Regions from separate parts of the Homo sapiens genome. Here region 1 is linked to region 2. The links are contacts of gene promoters, found by promoter capture Hi-C in human tissues and cell types (Jung and others, 2019). All regions are on one chromosome and are shown on one strand. Each heading gives the region's core, a stretch centred on a gene start or on the middle of the fragment in contact. The rest is flanking DNA. Distances are from core to core; before and after follow the strand shown.

Region 1 (6,716 bases), core at 2,006-4,505, 80 kb after region 2:
TTCTGAGTGCACCAATCGACACTCTGTATCTCGCTGCTCTGGTGGGGGCTTGGAGAACCTTTGTGTGGATACTCTGTATCTAACTAATCTGATGGGGACGTGGAGAACCTTTGTGTCTAGCTCAGGGATTGTAAACGCACCAATCAGCGCCCTGACAAAACAGACCACTTGGCTCTACCAATCAGCAGGATGTGGGTGGGGCCAGATAAGAGAATAAAAGCAGGCTGCCAGAGCAAGCAGTGGCAACACGCTCGGGTCCCCTTCCACACTGTGGAAGCTTTGTTCTTTCGCTCTTTGCAATAAATCTTGCTACTGCTCACTCTTTGGGTCCACGCTGCTTTTATGAGCTGTGACACTCACCACGAAGGTCTGCAGCTTCACTCCTGAAGCCAGTGAGACCACGAGCCCACCGGGAGGAACGAACAACTCCGGACGCGCTGCCTTAAGAGCTGTAACACTCACTGTGAAGGTCTGCAGCTTCACTCCTGAGCCAGCGAGACCACGAACGCACCAGAAGGAAGAAATTCCGGACACATCCGAACATCAGAAGGAACAAACTCCAGACGTGCTACCTTAAGAGCTGTAACACTCACCGCGAGGGTCCGCGGCTTCATTCTTGAAGTCAGTGAGACCAAGAACCCACCAATTCCGGACACAGTAGAAGCCCATTGGGCTTTTCAATTTTATTTACTCTAATTTCATTCTAAAGAATTCTGTTTTGTAGTTCTCCTTTTATTTTATTATTATTTTTTGAGACAGGGTGTCACTCTGTTGCTCAGGCCAGAGTGTAGTGGTGCCATCTCAGCTCACTGCAGCCTTGACCTCTCTGGGCTCAAGCGACCCTCCCACCTCAGCCCCCTTGAGTAGCTGGGACTACAGGCATGCACCACCATGCCTCGCTAATTTTTGTATTTTTAGTAGAGATGGGGTTTCACCATGTTGCCCAGGCTGGTGTTGAACTCCCAAGCTGAAGTGATCTGCCTGCCTTGGCTTCTCAAAGTGCTGGGATTACAGGCGTAAGCCACCACGCTTGGCCGTCTTTTTTTTTTTTTTTTTTTTTTAATCTGCTTGGTTGTTTTTTATAGTCCTTTTCCTTGGCTTAACTTTTGTTTACTTAAATATATTACACATAAATATGTTGTATTCTGTGTCTGATAATTCCAATATCCATGAGCCTTACCTGATTCTGCTGGCTTCAGTCATGGTTCCTTGTTTCCTTATATTTGTGATTTTATTTTATTTATTTATTTTTTTATGAGCCACTCATTTTTCTGGGAACCTAGGGATTCTTTGAGGCCTAGATTGAAGTTAAGTCTGGAAGTTCTCTTCTTCCAGAGAAGATTTGTCATACCTTTTTGAGTTGCTGGGGATTGCCACCACACTGGAACCAAATTAAGTCAAATCCTTAGCTTGTCATTTTGTACCACAGAGGTAGTGTGAATTCTGACCACAAACTCACATAAAGGCTTCCTTGTTACACATTCTTGAAAGATTGCTATTTTTCTTTACTTGAACATCAGGGTTGAGAAAAACAGTTTTTCTTTTCTCTTTTGCAGTAGTGGGATTTATTTCTTGTACACTGTAGAGTGTGGTCTTTTTCCAGCCATCTCCTGTTGGACTCCTTATCTTGGGCAGTCTCTAATGTATCTTCTGGTCCATCCTTTGCTCATCTGTCAGTGTAGGAGTTTGAAGTCTGAAGGGTCTGGTGCCACCTCAGGGTGAAAGCTAGTTTTGCCACTCACTTATCTTGCAGGATTCTTGATTTTGCTTTGTTTGGGGGTTTAGCAAGTTTCTTTATGTTAGGTTAGTGATAGGTTTAAATTTTTTTTTTTTGATGTTTTATCAAGTTTTTTAGTTATTTCAGTTAGGAAGGTTGCTCAAGGTATATAATATTGCTAGAAATAGAAGTTCCATAATTGTTTTTTCCATGTTACAGACCTTCGTCTATTTGAAAGCCCCTTTCTCCCTGAATCTTCTCTGCCCCACATTTTTCTGGGTTACTCCGCTTTTCATATGATTTCACAGACTTCCAACCATCGCAGTCATTCTCTGTATGACTTTTGGTTGCCTCTGGCCAGATTGAACACAGTTCTCCACATTTGGAGTGGCATTGATCTTTCAATCTCTGTCTTTTTTAAATCTGGGTTCAATAAACTTATTTCAGACCTTTTCCTTGAAGTCAGCATTTTTATTCTTGGCAATGTTTATTTTATTCCTTGCTGTTCCTAATGTCTTTGTTAGTTCTGTATGGATGCTACTGGCTTTGTTTTTTTAGGTCTGTAGCTCATTCTTTTTGTTTCATGGTCTAGGTTTTGAACTCTTTGTTTTCTTAAATTCATGTTCTTATGATATTTTCCTATAGTGAGAAAGTTATAAGGGGTTTCCTTCATCCCTTAGCTTGTTTCCTTCTGTGTTGGGTTTTTATTTTGCATGCTACATACTACCTTTTCCCCTGCCTTTTAGTTTGTTTGCATAGTTTCCTTGCCATTTTCTCTCATCTTGGGGTGGCATTCTCCAGACATTGTTCTTATGCACTGTGGGTGCTTCCTGTCTGAGACCATTTGGCTGGGGACAAAGCTCAGCCAAAGCTTTGTTCTATCTGTATTAGAATAACCAGGTCTATTCTGAGATTCTCTTCAAAGTTACCTATCAGAGTTCACTCTCTTATTTGGAAGAGATAATATACCCTTTGAGCTCTGATTATTTAATTCACTGAAGTCTTCACTCTAAAGAGCCAATCCTGATGTTCTCTCTTCATTTTGCTCATTTCTCCCTAGCAGCCATGTTTACCACTCACTCATGAGAAGAAGAAGAAAATAAGGAAACCCCCTCAGCTTGCCTCTGCAGATTTGGGGGTATAAAGGAAAATTCTCAGGATTTTGCTGACTTTGCGGTACAGTTTCAAGGGCTGATTAGAAACTAGTGTTTTGCTTACTTCTGCTCTCTGCTGTTTCACTGTTTCTTTTTTTTTTTTGATTGCCAATATTTGAAGTTTATTGCCTAGATTATCTCTCTTTCCTTGTTTGGTTGTTGTTATTGTAGATTTTGACTCTTTTCTCTCCCTGCACTCACCCTTTTTTTTTTTCTTCCCATCTTACTCCTGAAGTCCAGGCCTAGGGGTTTTTTGCATTGCTGCAATTAAACCATATCTCTATTATTTTGATCTTCAGCACGTGTGAGGGATCAGAAGAAGGATAGAGTCTGATTCCCAGGCTCTTCTAATATTTAGACTTTTATAAAATAACTAATCAGCACTGGTATTGTCTTTTTCCCTCTCCCACTCTGTCTCCCCCACTCCTCCCTTAGCTTCTTACTTCTCTCTCTGGATGAGCTGCTTCTAGTGAAGAAAGAGTTCACTGTTCAGAGGTGGGAAGCCAGAAGATAAAACCAAATGGCTGGGCAGTCTTTAGGTTATTCCTAGCTAAGAGTTAAGAGTTGTAAGCTCTCTCATTCTTTGTTCTTCAGCCTTAAACTATCTTTCCTTCTATTAACTTTATTTGTCTCAGTTACAATGATAGAGGTAACTTCACATACTAAAAGAAATTAGGTTACCATGTGAAACATTCTTCTTGGCTTGTGCTAATGTTATCAGATCCAAACAGCATCTGAAAGAAAATTTTCCAAGTAGATGTTGTTCTCTTGTTTTCTGAAATACATATCATATGTTAAAGTGAGAGTTTTTATACATGTTGAAAGAAGTTGAATGACATAACAAATAGTTACTGAGGCCTCCATTTTCTTACTTCACAGTTAAAATTCCTGTTTCTCTTTGGGTATAGGAGGTAGAAAGAAGTGGGAGAGTAATAGCATTTTAAAACACAGAATCAAAAATACATATTAAAAGTAGAACTTAGGCCCAGGCACAGTGACTCACGCCTGTAGTCCCAGCACCATGGGAGGCTGAGGCAAGTGGATCGCTCGAGCCCAGGAATTCGAGACCAGCCTGGGCAACTAGGTGAAACCCTGTCTCTACAAAAAATACAAAAGTTAGCCAGGCATGGTGGGGTGTGCCTGTAGTCCCAGCTACTTTGGGGGATGAGGTGGGAGGATCTCTTAGGCCTGGGAGGTGGAGATTGCAGTGAGCCGAGATCACGCCATGGCACTCCAGTCTAGGTGAAAGATTGAGACCCCATCTCAAAAAAAAACAAAAAAGAAAAAAGTAGAATTTAGGTATTCCTACTTTTACAGTCAAAAGTCCACTGGTGTTTGCATAACAATGATGTTTTGACTAGTTATTGGACTAAAAGTAGGACACATGAAGCAGGTGACTAGGAATTTGGAAATATTATTGCTTAGGTCATTACTGGACCTTACGAAGAGATTGTTGCACTGGTGACTTGGACTTTGCTGGTCCCTCCCCGACTCTTCACAGCTGGCTTGACGACTCTTGTGACATTCTGAGGTTTTATGCTAAACCACAGGACATGCTGCTGATTTGCAGAGCTGACCTCAGCTGTAAGCACTTTGTCTTCTGCAGCGTAGAAATGTAGTGACCTACAAGTGTCCCATGCCCAAGTTGGGTGCATTATTTTTTGGTGATGGTCACATGTTTCATAAAGACTTCCTGAGTCAAAAAATGACTTTTCTCAGTTCATCTTCCATATAACTCCTGGCCACAGGGATTTTGTATCCAATGGTATTTTTGTTCTATGTGTGGATATTATTTTAGCAAAGTTCAGTGGTCACTTTCTCTGATTCCATCTTGTATTAAGCTACACTAAATATGAAAACGTAGAAAGTTTTACTTCTTATCAACAGATGCTAATGTATGACATTGAGTGAAACACTTTAATTCCTCAAGGGCTCAGTTTTCTCACCTGTAAATTGAAAAAACCTTTCAAAGATTGTATGAATCTTCAGAGATGGTAAGTCTAAGAAGTTGTCCAACTAGTTTAGTATTGTGGCTTTTTGTTTGTTTTGGAATGATTCATTCTCATATATTATTTTTTAAAAAAATAGCCAGGTGGCTATGACATGCCTGTGTTGGTCAAGGTTTACTGAGAGTCAAGTCAGGCATTAAGAAATGTGAAGGCCAGGTGCAGTGGCTCACACCTGTAATCCCAGCTCTTTGGGAGGCTGAGGTGGGCAGATCACTTGAGGCCAGGAGCTTGAGACCAGCCTGGCCAACATGGTGAAACCCCGTCTCTGCTAAAAATACAAAAATTAGGTGGGCATGGTGGTGGGCGCCTGTAATCCGAGCTACTCGGGTAACTATGGCAGGAGAATCGCTTGAACCAGGAGGCAAAGGCTGCAGTGAGCCGAGATCATGCCATGGCACTCCAGCCTGGGCAACAGAGTGAGACTCTGTCTCAAAAAAAAAAAAAAAATGGATTGAGGGTTTGTTAGGTGTCAGCCACTATGTCAGGTGCTAGGAATTTGTCATGAACAGACTGGTCCCTACTTTCATGAATTTATAGTCCAGTGAGGGAAATAAGATGAATAAAAAGACCCCTACGTCTTTTTGTTTGAACTCTGGTAAAGAAATGTGTTTATCAGAGGGGCTAGGCCAAACTTTAGGAAAACATTTCACTTCACTTAAAAAAAATTAGGATTTTTGTTTTATTTCAGATAAGGCAACAAACTTCCATCAAGTAGAAACTTCTGCTTTTCTCTGTCTTTCAAACTTGTCAAAATCAGCAGTTTACTTTGTTAAATCTGAATGTCTCTTTTTAGTGTATTGCACAGTTTACTAGAATTGTAATCACAATTTCACATTCTTTAACAGGTATTGAAAATTTAAATTAAAATTCTGATATTTTTGAATGGCATAAAATGCCCTATCTTATCTGAAAATTGAAAAATTAATACAGAAATGTAAATGGATTGTGAATAGGTGGGATCTGGCCAAGTGTGCATTTGTCTAGGCAGTGCTGAGTTTCTGCTCATTATTTAGTAGCTTTCATTCTTCACCTGAGCCAAAATTAGGCTTAGCCAATAAAGCCAAATTTTCCTTCTGGAAGACATGGCAGTGTCTGCCTTGCAGCATGCATCCAAGACCTTATCTGTTTCTGTATCAAACATTGTCAAGATCAGGGCATGAAGAGCCGGGGCATTCCTGACTCCCCCAACAGATGGCATCTCTTCTTTATTATAGGTGACTTCTGGGGGAACAGAAAGCATACTGATGGCCTGCAAAGCATATCGGGATCTGGCCTTTGAGAAGGGGATCAAAACTCCAGAAATGTATGTATGTGTGGCTGTTTTGTCCCCTTTTGGATTTGTCTGTCTGGAGTACAGCTTTATGAAACTAAAGCAGATAATCCATTTTCCTGCTGCTTCTCTTCCTCTGGTAATTCTGGTCCCCTTTCCCCCTGTCCTAGCCCCTCTGCCCTTATCCTTTTACATTCAGTAAAATTCTAAATGGATCAGCCAGTTATTTTTAAAGATCATTCCCATCCCGCCCCACCCCCAGATCATGCATAGTATATACTACAAGCAAAAATAAGATCCTTTTTCCAAAAGTGAGAGTTTGAGGACTACATCTTTGAATCCTGTGATATTTGCAAATTATTTGGAGCCTAAAGAAACCTCTCTAGGTACTTTAGTTCTGCTTACCTTAGAAAGTTACTTAATATTATAGGCTGCCTCAGGGTACTCTCTGGGAAAACTTTAGTGTGAGGGCTGTTTTCTGGGAGGAAGAATAAAAATATCTTTTTGAGATTTACCCACATTGCCTTCCTTGGACATAAATTTGATGTTTAGTTACATTATTTTTT
Region 2 (7,066 bases), core at 1,299-3,798:
GCCCTTCTCACGGTGGCCCTGGCTGAAGGGAGTCCTTTTGGAGTACAGATGGACTCTGGATGTGCTAAGCAAGGCGTGCCGCCCCCGGACCCTCTGAGGACTCCACTGACTTGGCCCCTGAGTTTCCTGTTCCATTCTCCATTCGCCTCTAAGGGATCTGGGGCTTAAAGAAATAAAGCAAACCTTCTCTGAAAGTTGCAGTTAGCTGTCCTCTTCTACCCCCAAGTAACAGAGGAAGTCACCTCCTGAGAACCCCTGGAACTCCTTTGCTCAGTGCTTCTGGCACCCGCTCAAGTCTTTTCCCTGCCCAGGAGGGGCAAAGCCCACTACCTGGGCTAACTTGAGCCTGAGGACCCATTGGGGGGTCTGGCTGACCGGCAGCAGAAGTCCAGTAAGAACCACCTCTCTTGGACTCCTAATCTGTTGAGATCCCCCAAGGCCACCTTTGTCTTCTACCCTGCCCTACCCCAAGCCCTCCTCAGTCAGCAGGGTGGGCATTTGGAGCCTCACCTCATCAGTGGATAATCAGCCAATTGAACATCTGTAGCCATTGTATGCTTTTTAACAGACTAAAGGCCAGTGCACTTAATACTAGCGTTGAGGATGCAGAACAGGAACTCTCACTTAATACTAGTGTTGAGGATGCAGAACAGGAACTCTCACGAACTGGTGGTGGAAGTGTAAACGGGAACAGGCACTTTAGGGGGAGAAATGGTAATATCTTTTAAAATTGAGCATTTGCATGCTGTATCACCCAGCAATTTCTTTCCCAGATATAAGAGAAATTCTTATAGATGTACAACAGGGGCTACTTATAAGAATATTCATACAAACACTGTTCAAAATAGCAAAAACCTGGTGGCAACCCAAATGTCTGATGGCAGAAGAATGGATAAATAAGCTGTGGTGCATTCAGACAATGGGATACTTTATTGCTATGAAAATAAATGAGCCACAGCTACATGTAACAACATGGATGAATCTTATAATCAGTATGAGAAAACTTAACAATTCTTGGTTTTGCGATGTTATATTTATGCAATCTTATTAACTCAATTTACTTTTTATTAATTACTATTAAATAGGCTGCAGTAGAACAAGATATATGCATTTGAAACAATACAATTGTTGTCATCCACTATATATAATGTGTGGATAATATAAAATAACTACTAAACAGTATAAATGTTGTTTAAAAACATATTATTTTTCTTTCATAAATGGTTTAGTTTATGTGTGTTCCAGAGGACCACAAGTTCCAGAGGACCACATAGCCTGAGATCCTTTCTAAAAATAAAAGTTTAAAAGCAAGCAAAATGATCATGAACATGCGATAAAACAGCAACAACAGCATCAAACAAGGAAATGCTAAGCACGAAATTCACATAGTGGCTATTTCCGAGGGAAGGCGGGGAGGGGAAGTGTGCAGGAGAAGCGCATATAAGGAGATGTGTTAGTGATGATGTTCTTGTTCTTGGTTTGGGTGGTGTATTTGCTTGTGTTTATTATATTATTAAATAAACTAATTAAATGGCATAGATGAAAGATGATAGGTGTCAAAACCAAGAATTATGATTAAATCTATGGACCTGAATATATATATCTAGCCAAAGTGCTAGGGATGGGGTTGGGACAGGACATCAGTGCATTCTGAGAATTAACCCTCAGAGTCACAGAATCTGCAAGGGACCCCAGAGATCTCCCAATGCCAGCCTTCATCAGGTAGTGGGATGGGTTGGAGTTGTCTGAGATCAGGGAAGCAGGGGAGATTTGCTGAGGTCACACAGAAGGAACCAGAGCCCGGGCAGTCTGACTCACAGTTTGCTGATCTTTTCTTTCCTTAAAAGGAAGCTCCAGACATCCTTGATGTCAGGTACTGGGCTCTAGAGTACTGAGATGCTACAATCTTGAGAACAGGATATGTGGAAGCCCCAAATCCTCCTGCCTATGGGAAAAAGTACTCTTTAGAACAGAGACTTGCAAATGTGTTTGGCTGTGATGACGGTAAGAAATTCTTTATGTCATGATCCAATTCACATATGGGTTTGTGTGTGTGTGTGAAACTAAAACAATAATATCCTGAAGCAATATTTATCCGTACTACATATGATGCACACTGATATTTTTACCCTATTTTTGGTTTTTATTTCTTAAATGTTAGATATGATCCATTTAAATTGATCTAATAAGCCACCAGGGGGTCATAACCCACAGCGGCTGTAGAGAGGCTGACAGGGACTCTAGTAGGCCAAGCCTGCCTTGTCCAGAGCGGGACAGGTGGGACCCCAGTGTAGTCTGCCCTGCCCTGCCCCTGCTCTCTGTCCCTGGGGCCCCAGCCAGCCAGGCAGAGGGGTCTGAGGGCTCCCATCAATCCAGCCACAAAACTTCCCTTTCTACCTCTGCCCTTCTGGGCTGTCCAGGGTCCATCTCCTCTCCCGAGAGGTCCCTGGACTCACCAAGGCAGTGCCCGCTACAGCATGTGTACGAGAAGCCCTGCTGTCCTAGCAGGAAGGAGCAAGAGGACAAATCGAGGGGAAGGCTGTGGGTTCTGTGGGCAAGTCTGCCTGCTTTGTGACACTGAGCCCAGTGGTTGCTAGGTTACCCTGTTCCCACAACTCCAGAACCTCTGCCCAGCACCCCTCTACCACATCCCCTGCCTATCTCCCCCTCCTGGAAGGGTAGACAAGGGCTAAGGACCTTCTGTCCCTCCTGACTTCCCTGCTGCCTCCCATCCAACACTTTCAATGGGGGCCAAGGGAGAGAAGGAGAGTCTGGGGCTGGTTTTAGCCAGAGAGAAGCGGATGGAGGCGGAACGCTGGCAGAGGACGTTGGTGGGCTGCGTCCCAGCTTCGTCAGCCCCACCTGGCCTGACCCCACCACACAGGGGTCGGCTTCCATGCATCTTGGTTCTGGGGACCCATTCTCAGGGAGGTGGGTCTTGGAAGGAGAGAAGATGGCAGCCCGCATTACCCAGAGGGACCCCAGCCCCTCTCTCTGCATGACAGCTGGGTGGGAAGATTCTGGGCTTGCATTTGGACAGGTGTTTTAATCAGATTTCAACATCCCATAGACACGTTACCTTGGGTAAGTCACCGGGACTGCCACAGATGCAAAATAGTGGGAAGAATCCTTGCTTCGAGTCCCTATTCTGCTACTTCCTAGTTGTGTGGCCTCAGACAATGCACCTGCCTTCTCTGAGCCTTAGTTCCCATATCTCTAAAATGGAGATGATGATACTGCACTTATTCTCACAGGATGTTTGAGAATATTAAGTGAGTTGATATATATTAAAGCGTTTCAAACAGTATCTGCCCCCAAGTATAATTTCTTACTATTATTGCCTTCTCTGGGTCTATAAAATGGGATATCCTCACCTACTTCTGTGGTTGTTCTGAAGACAAGCTAATGGAAGTGAAGCCTTTAGTTGTATGTCTGGCACACAAGAGATGCTCAAAAAGGATAATAATCATCATTATTATTGGTAACTTGATGGAGGTAGTAGGATGAGTCCTTTGTCTGAGAACTATCTTAGGTAGTTCACTATTTCTCTGAGGCTCAACTTGGACACCTGTCAAATGGGGGTAAGGATAGTTCTTAGCCGACAGGGCTGTAACTCAATCAGATCCCGGGAGGGGTGCAGACAGGCTCTGTAAACTATGGGAAGGCTTGCAGACAGTGCCGGGTGCTGTCCCTCAGAATGATGAGGTGGGCTTTTCCCAGGGCCTTTGCTCTCAGCACCCCTGGCTTCATACTGGTGCCCTGGGGCTTCCAGACTCTGTGTCTTTTCTCTGGGGAGCAAGAAAAGGAAGGTGGGTAGCTAGAGGCAAACCCAAGTCCTTCAAAAGTTCTGCCCCTCCCAGCTAAGGGGTGGGGATTCATACCACTCTGGTGGCCCCCTGAGGGCTGTCCTCTGGTCTTGGCCTACTCCAAATGCCCACCCATCCTTCGGCAGGTCAGGATGTTCCCTGGCTTTTTCTGGGCCTGTCTCTGCAGGAATACGGTGACTCTTTTGAAATCATACTGAAAACCCCCTCTTCCATACTTCTGGGCATCCTGGCAGCTGTGAAGATAGATGATATAGCATTTGGGAGAAGAGAGGCTTTCTTCCCCGTGACAAGCCACTCCTCCCTCCTGCTTTCAGCACTCTTGTGGCATTTCCCACCACGCGAGCTGACTCAGCTGAGATGAAAACCCACTCTCATCCTCCCCACTGGTGCCTTGTAATGCTTCAACTATGTTATTTACAATCGAGCATGGGGGTCTGCATAGGGACTGCAGCTGGGGGGATGAAGGGGTTCCTCAGGAAATGTCTTCAACACTGGTTTGTAAAAGAAGAACTGAGGAAACTCTTCTGACTCCTTTGTGGAGTGTCAAAAACTGTAGAGAGATCTGTCAGCCTGAGAGTGATTTGAGGTACAGTCCTTGGCCTGGATGACTCAGTCATAACAGAGGCAATAGAAACTTCATGGAACACTTTCTATGTGCCAGGCACTGTGCCAACCTCTTAGATATATTACCTCATGTAATCCTATAGATGGAGAAATTAATGATCAGATAAATCTTTAGTTATTTGTGTTGCAAATATATTCTCTCCTTTGTGTCTTGCTTGTCTGTGTCTATATGCAGTCTTTTGATAAAGAGAATTCCTAATTTTAACATAACCCAGTTTATCAATTTTGTCCTTAATGGTTAGTGGGTTTTGTGTTTTAAGAGATTTTTGCCTACCCAAGGTTATGAAGATAATTCTCATTATTATTTTCTGAAGATTTACTGTTTTGCTGTTCATGTTTAGATCTACAATCAATACGGAATTGATTTTTGTGTTTGGTGTAAGATAGGGGTCAAAATTTATATATATTTTTTCCATATAAATATCCATTCGACCCAGTACCATTACTTAAAACATTGTCCTTATCTCTGCAGTACCATCTTTAACAAAATTCAAGTATCCGTATATGTGTGGGTCTGTCTCTGGACTTTCTGTCTACCAATGCACCAACACTATATTCTCTTAATTACTGTAACTTTAAATACATCTTGATGTCTATATAAGTGGTATAAGACTTCCAGCTTTGTTTTTTTAAGAGTGTCTTGGATATTCTAGTTCCTTTGCCTTTCCATACAAATTTTAGAATAATCTTATTGATATCTACAAACATTTTTGTTTAGATTTTTATAGGAATCAGGTTAAACTTCTGTATCAATTTGGGGAGAATGGACATCTTTACCATGTTGAGTCTTCCAGTCCATGAACATAGTATATCTCTCCATTTATTTAAATATTCTTTGATTACTTTAATCAGCATTTTATAGTTTTCAGCATAAAAGCCGTGGACATGTTTTGTTAGATTTTCACCTATTTCAGTTTTTGTTTTTAAAGGAACTGTAAATGGTATGGTATTTTAAATTTTGGTGTCCATATATGCATTGCTAGTATATAGAAACACTATTAATTTGGTATGTTAGTTTGTATCCTGCAACCTTGCTGAACTCACTTATTAGTTTCTGGAGATATGTTGTAGATTCCCTGGAATTTTCTACATAGGTAATAATATCATCTGCAAATAGGGACAGTTTTCTTTCTTTCTTTCTTTCCCATATATATGCTTTTTCTTCTCTTCTCTTCTCTTCTCTTGTCTTACTGCACTGCCTAGAATTTCCAATACTAAGTTGAATAACAGTGGTGAGAGTGCACATCCTTACCTTGTTCCTAATCTTAGGAAGTAAACACAGAGTCTTTAACCATTAAATATAATGTCAGCTGTAGGTTTTTTATATATACTCTTTATCAGGTTAAAGAAGTCCCTCTCTCTTCCTATTTTTCTGAGCATTTTTGTCATAAATGTGTGTTGAATTTTATCAAATGCTTTTTTTCTGCATCAACTAATATGATCTTGTGATTTTTCTTCTTTTGCTGGTCAGTACATTGATTTTTCAAATATTGAACTAGCTTTTTATCCCTGGAATAAGCCCCACTTGGTCATGGTGTACAATTCTTTTTATATATTGCTGGATTCTACTTGAAAATATTTTGTTAAGGATTATTGCACCTATATTTATGATGAATATTTATCTGTAGTTTCCTTTTTGTAGTATCTTCCTCTGGTTTGGGTATCATCAGGGTAATACTAATTTCATAAAATGAATTGGGAAGTGTTACCTCCTTTTCTATTTTCTGGAAGAGATCGTGTAAAATTGATGTTAATTCTTCTTTAAATGTTTGCTGGATTTCTCCAGTGAAACTACCTGGGCCTGGAGATTTATTTTTTGGGGTGTTTTAAAATTGAAAATTCAATTTTCTTAACAGTTATGGGACTATTCAAGAGATCTGTTTCAAAATGGGTGAGTTGTAATAGTTTCTTTTTCAAGGAGTTGGCCAATGTCTCTTATATTGTAAAATTTATTTGTGTAGAGTTGTTTTGTAATATTCTCTTATTATCCTTTTGATATCTGTAGAATATGTAGTGATATCTTTATTTCATTCCTGATACTATTAATTTGTGATTTCTTTCTCTTTCTTTTTTTGCCAGTCTTGCTAGATAGAAGTTTGCCAATTTTACTGATGTTTTCAAAGAACCAGCTCTTTGTTTTATTGATATTTTTCCTTTTTTTTTTCTGTTTTCAATTTCATGGATTTCTGCTCTTATCTTCGTTATTTCATTGTTCTGCTTGTTTTGGATTTATTTTGCACTGCTTTTTCTAGTTTTGTGAGGGGGGTGCTTAGATTATTTGTTGGACACTTTTCTCTCTCTTTTTTTTTGGTAGGGGGATGGAGTCTCGCTCTGTCACCCAGGCTGGAGTGCAGTGACGCGATCTTCGCTCACTGCAACCTCTGCCTCCCAGGTTCAAGCAATTCTCTGCCTCAGCCTCCGGAGTTGCTGGGATTACAGGCGCCTGCCACCATGTCCAGCTAATTTTTTTGTATTTTTAGTAGATACGGGGTTTAACCATTTTGGCCAGGCTGGTCTTGAACTCCTGACCTCATGATCCACCCATCTCGACCTCCCAAAGTGCTGGGATTATAAGCATGAGCCATCGTGCCTGGCCTCCTCTATTCTAATATATG

What was found. The method cuts DNA at HindIII sites, captures the fragments that hold promoters and counts their contacts. A contact is called where the count stands out against the background at its distance.
Region 1: a contact is called between a fragment that was not itself captured here and the fragment with the promoter of TBATA in region 2, in 2 of the 25 tissues and cell types used here (liver and thymus).

Annotation. Positions count from the first base shown.
Region 1 is chr10:70,862,251-70,868,966 of GRCh38, forward strand. It overlaps SGPL1 (sphingosine-1-phosphate lyase 1), which reads left to right. Exons shown (of 15, transcript NM_003901.4): 8 at 6,095-6,183. Among named protein-coding and RNA genes, the nearest start is that of PCBD1, 23 kb to the right of the region's middle. The HindIII fragment of the contact is 9,380 bases long and covers 1-6,716 here.
Region 2 is chr10:70,782,829-70,789,894 of GRCh38, forward strand. TBATA (thymus, brain and testes associated) reads right to left here and starts at 2,549. Exons shown (of 11, transcript NM_001318241.2): 1 at 2,457-2,549; 2 at 1,819-1,945; 3 at 511-697. The coding sequence starts at 551. The HindIII fragment of the contact is 18,774 bases long and covers 1-7,066 here.